Regions from separate parts of the Homo sapiens genome. Here region 2 is linked to region 1. The links are contacts of gene promoters, found by promoter capture Hi-C in human tissues and cell types (Jung and others, 2019). All regions are on one chromosome and are shown on one strand. Each heading gives the region's core, a stretch centred on a gene start or on the middle of the fragment in contact. The rest is flanking DNA. Distances are from core to core; before and after follow the strand shown. Region 1 holds the start of HK3 (hexokinase 3). Region 2 has its middle 12 kb from the start of UNC5A.

Region 1 (2,887 bases), core at 170-2,669:
GCCATACTCATTTTTCCATCACCTTACCCCCACAAAGCTCTTCTGTTCTCCACCTTGACTGGAGACATCGAAGTGTGCTCACTCACACGGCCGTTCGGGCTGCCTGCGCGCATCCCTCACCCTCACCTCCTCTATGCAATTGGATCTCAGGCTCTCTAAGAGCTCTCCTCTGCATCCCCTCCTCCCCATTCCCACACACTGCACCAGACCATCCTCCGGCCTGATTATTACAACAGCCTCCTAAACTGATAGCTCTGCTTCTAGTTTCTTCACCTCCTTACCCCACCCAACTTGATCACCTCTGCACTCATGGCCGGCACAGGGTCTGGTATAGGTATGTGCTAATGTGCCTTTCCAAAATTGGAAGCAAGGGGAGTGGGTAGTTTTTTATTTAATAAAGCAACAAATCAGCTTCTGATAAATCTCCCCAAACCATACATACCTATGCTGAGTTTCCAAATCTGTCAAATAGGGGTGTGGAATTCTTGTTCTATGCTGCAGGTCTATTTCAAGGATAAAATGAGGTAACTGGGGCAATTACCTTCGAAAAGGACTAAGGGCTACACACGTGTCTTTCTCAAGGCCCAGCTAGTTCATTTATTCATTCACTCACTCATTCATTCCCTCATCCATTCAATATTTATTCAGCATTTTTACATGACAGAATCTGTGAAGCAATCCCCAAGTAGCCCTAATATTTATATGCTAGGTAAATGTATTCAGCTCTGTCTCTTCCCACTGAGATTCCCTGTGGGGAGGGACATGTCTCCTTCACTGCAGTATCCCCAGAGCCCAGGGTCTGTTTGCCTAAGGGCCCCGTGGCTTCCCTTAGCTGAATGGGCTACACGAAGTGAGTTTTCCTCCTGAAAAGTACCCCAGGGACCTCTACTGATGTTGGGAGCTGCCATCGAGAACCAGCTGGCAGGCTGGGTGTGGTGGCTTGCACCTGTAATCCCAGCACTTTGGGAGGCTGAGGCAGACAGACTGCTTGAGCCCAGGAATGTGAGACTAGCCTGGGCAACATGGCAAAACGCCATCGCTAGAAAAAAATAACAAAAATTAGCTGGGTGTGGTGGTGTGCGCCTGTAGTCTCAGCTACTCCGGAGGCTGAGGTGGGAGGATCACTTGAACCCAGGAGGTCAAGGCTGGAGTGAGCCCTGACTGTGCCACTGTACTCCAGTCTGGGTGATAGAGAGAGAGACCCCATCTCAAAAACAAAGAAAGAGAACCAGCTGGCTTAATCTTTCCAGTGTCCACTTCCCCTGGTGTGAGCCAAACAGGAGGGATGAGGACAAGACAGCTGTGGAAGGAGCAGGCAGTAATTAGACCGAAGTGCTTACCTGGGACACAGAGAAGCTAGTCACTCTCCTCAGGTCTGAGCTCTTGTCTGGCAATATGAGGCACCCCAATGACCAAAAGCAACACTCAGGGGTGACCCGAGTTATAATATCCTCAAGCCCCACCCTTTTCCTCCACCACCACTTACCAAACATCAGCTAATTCAGGAAGCTGCACTTCCTTCCAAGCCTGCCCTAAGAGTAGCCCAGGCTAGGCAAGGCTGTGGTGAAAACTTGAGCAAGATGATTACCGCGAAGTGGAGCGTTGAACTGGGTCTAAGATTTTGGGCCATTCCCTCTACAATGCTGAGGGCTGTTTATTTTGCAAATATAGTGAGTTCTGAGGTGGTGGCTCGCCCCTAGAAGGAGCTGGAGGCGCCTAGCCTGGAAAGGTTATGGTAAGTACTTTTGAGCAAGAGGCAATGTGGGAGCACAAGCGGAAGGGACTGACTCTGCCGAGAGTGGGCAGGGCTAGCTGAAGAAGCTGAGTCTTGAAGAAAGAACAGCAGTATGCTGACAAAAGTGGTCCTTGACAAAGTGGAGAGCATGTGCACAACCACAAATCACACACACACAGCAATGAGGTGCAGCTCCAGGCGCCTGAAGAGGGTACACCAAGGTAGGAATATATAGTGGGAGAGGAGGTGACAGGCAGACTGCGGAGTCTAGCCTTTAGTCTGTAGCCTGCGCAGGGAGAGTAGGTTCACATCTTAGGTCTTCTCTACTGGAAGAAGGGGAGTGTTAGGCTGCTGTGGAGCTATTGGCGAACAAGCTGTTTTTCTGTGGGAATTTCTCCTCAAAGGCACAGAACCTTGGGGCACCAATGTAGAATACTAGACAGCCTGCAACAATCTTTGTTGAAGGCATGGATACACTTTAAAGCTTCAGGCTGCCTTGTCAGCAGTAACTCTATCCACAGATAGTAGGCCTCCACATGACATCAGGATGGAGACCAGAGATAGTGGCTCCTCTATCAGTAGTGGCATGAAGAGGCCAGGAAACATGCCAAACATCAGTCCTGCTGTGAAGTTTACTGGGTACCAACCAGGCATATAGGCTGTGAAAGGCAGGGAAGTGGGGGATGGGGTGGCAGAGGGTAGAGTGGCTGTCACAAACAACACAGCATCCTGCCTAGCCTGGGATCCCAGTCCCTTTCAACTTTGTTCAGTTGGGAGAGGAGAATGTGGAACTGACTATGAAAGGCCCAGCTGTGATTCATGCAGATAGCCTGCCATTTCTTGAGCCAGGGTGAGGATATGCCCCTGACAAGCATGGCCAGGGCTCTTCATCTGCGTTTCTGGAAGGTCTGTGTCCAGACCCCAGGAGCAGGGGTCCTGGTTCCCTAGTCAGAATGCCAGGGAAAGTCTGGGTCAAGGCCAGTGGAGGGAGAAGGATGGCTGAGCTTGAGGTCTGTGAGCAGCTGGGACAGCCTGGCTGTAGCAGAGGCACTGCAGCTGCCAGCGGTTCTCTTCAGACACCAGATGGCCACTGACCAACAAAGGGAAGGACAAGTCCTCACGAGGTTCCCTCATAGCCCCTTAGTGCCAATC
Region 2 (3,040 bases), core at 452-2,951, 100 kb before region 1:
TCTGATGGACAGATGGGTGGGTGAGGGTGAGCGGGCTGTGCTCAGATGCTGATATGACTTGCCCAAGGCCACACAGCTGGCACCAGCAACCAGGTGGGATGAGCCCATGCCCTGTCCGGTCCTGCCTTCACTCTCTAATCTATTTCATGCCCCTTTAAAAAATAATAATAAACATGTGTCCTGTTATTCCCTTTAGATTGGGAACTGGTGTGGAGCTCTGGTAGCTAAAGACCCTCCAGACTCCCACGTCCCACCAGCTCACACCCTGTGGCCTCGGGGCCACCTGCTCTAGCTGCTGGATGCGCCCGACTTCAAAGCCCATTAAGTGGATCATTACGAGGTTAATAAAACCCGTTCCCCTACACCCGCACACGTCCGCCCTCGCCTGCGGCTGCTGCCCATCAGCTGGGTCTGCTCTCACTGTTGCCAGGAGCTGAGAGAGAGCGGGGCGGCCGTGCAGGTGAGCAGCCCCCAGGGAGCAGTTGTCACTCAGGCCCTGTCCCTCCAGGCTGTCCTTTGAGGTGGGAAGTGGGAGGTGGCCTGTCTCTTTGAAGACCCTGCACCTGAGCCAGACCCTGTTGGGGGCCTGTGAGGCTGGCAGGAGGCGGCCGCTACAGTGGGGCTGAGGCAGCCTCGCACACAGAGAGCTGTCCTCTGTGAGCTGCGGTGTCTCCGCGATGGAGGAGGGAAGGGGCCTGCTGTCACCCTGACCCACTCCAGGCACAGGGGGAATAGGGGCTGGGGCAGTGTTTGGGCAGTGGCGGCAAGCCTGGGGTGGGGCAGGGTGGACCCCTGGGGCTGAGGGTCCACTTTCAGGGGGTGCCCTGATACAGGTTCCAAGACGTTCCCGGCGTGGGGTCCTGAGGGCGGGGAAGGCTCCTCTCTTCATCCAGAAAAATTCCATCTCGATGAAATGTACCTGAAGAAAACATCAGCTCATCATGTGGTTAGTGAGGGGGAAAGACACACCGCTGAAGGAAGCATACAGCAAGAGACCAGATAGTAAAAAATCTAGTGACTGATGCCAACATATAGACCTGCACCCATGGAGGGAAAGGCCCAGGAGGCCGTGCAGCAGACTCCGCCAGCGGCTTTCTCCCTGGAAAAACCAAGGATGTGAGGCGGGGTGATGTGCAGTCTTTTTTAAAAACACAAAATAATGTATTCATGTTTTATATGTAGGATTAAAAATTAATTTTTAAAGATATTCACCAAGGATATAATTTAGAGTGCGAGGGTCAGAGCTCCCCTTGAAGGAAGGGAAAGGAGAGTGAGGAAAGGACAGGAGAGGGTCCCGGCCGCGGGCGAGACCCCCGGGGTGCTGAGCCACTGCCCTGGGCCTGGTGCCTGGGGGACAAACCTGTGGTGCCGCCTGTCACCGCGGCGCCTTCTCTGGGATTGGACACCCCCAGCTATCTCCCCGGCTTGACCTCGCTTGAAGCTCCCTCCAAGATCCCACCCTGAAGTGGCTGAGGTGGGCCCAGGAATTGGTTCCAGGACTCGGGGAGCCGCGCGGGGCAGGAGCCAGGCCCACAGACAGCAAGCAGCGTTCTGCTTGGCTGATCCACGATGTCGGGGCTGCGGCATCTCCGCTTCCGCCCGGAGAGTGACGGCGTCCGCAAGCTCATGCGAGGGGGGTTATTTTACTAACCAGATAGATTAAGCATCTCTCCTTCTAATTACCGGTTTAATTAACCTTGGCACACAGTATGTACCAGACCCGAGGGACAGAGTCAGAATGGCTGCTCTGGGTGAACATCGCCCATCTGCTCTGCGCTAGGCTCCAGCGGACTCTCAAGGGGCCAGGGCAGCAGACATTGAGGGCCAGGAGTCTGGTGGCACCAGGAAGGAGCGGAGGAAAATGTGGGCAGGGATTGTCGGAAACCTCACAAGAGAGTCTTGCCATGGGCGCCGGATTCCAACAAGGCTGCCTCTTCAGCAGCCCTCCTGCAACGACCTGAGCAGGGCTGACCCCACCTCAGAGAAGGCAGAGCCCGGGCCACCCTGCTTGGGTCTCCCAGGGGTCCGCAGGGTAGCCAGTGTGCCCTGTGCAAGCCTGGGAGGTAGAAGACGTGGATGGCGATGGTGGAGGTGCTGCTTCAAATTCTCCAAGCCTCAGTCTCCTCATCTGTAAAATGAGCAGGATGGTATCTAAGTCACAGGGCAATTTATGAGGTTTAATGAAGAGAACAGAAACTGAGATACTTAAATTACATTCGTCTGTTCATTCACTCGTTCAGCACATATTCCTGGAGTGTGCACTGTGTTGGCAAAAGTAAGGAATACGATGGTGAACAGGGAGAATTGAAAGACTGAGTGCTCTGGGAATTGACAATGTCTGCCTAAGGACCCCAGAGTCATAGCACATGTGTGCACACACACACGAGCACACACACGAGCACGCACACACAAGCACACATACACACGAGCACACACAGATACATATGCATGCACACACACGAGCGCACACACAAGCACACATACACATGAGCATGCACACACATACACATGAGCACACACACACGAGCACACACACATACAATGAGCATACACACACAACACACACACACTGCTTCTTCCTGAGCTGTTGCCCGTGACACGCACACTCAGCACACACTTAGAAGATCCCTGCACGCACACACCTGCATGGAGACGTGTGTCTCCTTCACAGCCATGAACAGCACACACACTCATCTCAAAAACAACTCTACACCCACACGCATGCACGGGTGGCCATGTGTGAAGACGGCTGTGTGGCTCCTCTATTCTCAAGAAACATAAGGCCAAGATGTCACATTAATAAAAAACATGGTGTCCTGGTAAAGGTATATTTGTTTATTTAAAAGCTTATTAAAATCTTAACCTAGTCTCCTCTTCACTAATGCAGTGTTACTGGAGTCTCTTGATGATTGTGTGGGAGGGTGAAGAAGAGAGTGTGTGTGTTTGCATATGTGTGAGAGAGACTTTCTATTCATTTGTGTGTGGGGTGTGCTAGTGCGTGGGCTGTGTCCAGGTGTGGCCTGTGTGTGTGTGTGTGCCT

The links. The method cuts DNA at HindIII sites, captures the fragments that hold promoters and counts their contacts. A contact is called where the count stands out against the background at its distance.
Region 2: a contact is called between a fragment that was not itself captured here and the fragment with the promoter of HK3 in region 1, in 4 of the 25 tissues and cell types used here (H1 embryonic stem cells, bladder, mesendoderm cells and 1 more).

The regions. Positions count from the first base shown.
Region 1 is chr5:176,897,927-176,900,813 of GRCh38, forward strand. It overlaps HK3 (hexokinase 3), which reads right to left and starts at 1,420. Exons shown (of 19, transcript NM_002115.3): 1 at 1,341-1,420. RefSeq lists an enhancer at 2,240-2,741. The HindIII fragment of the contact is 11,300 bases long and covers 1-2,887 here.
Region 2 is chr5:176,797,212-176,800,251 of GRCh38, forward strand. No RefSeq gene overlaps it. Among named protein-coding and RNA genes, the nearest start is that of UNC5A, 12 kb to the right of the region's middle. RefSeq lists an enhancer at 947-1,893. The HindIII fragment of the contact is 8,487 bases long and covers 1-3,040 here.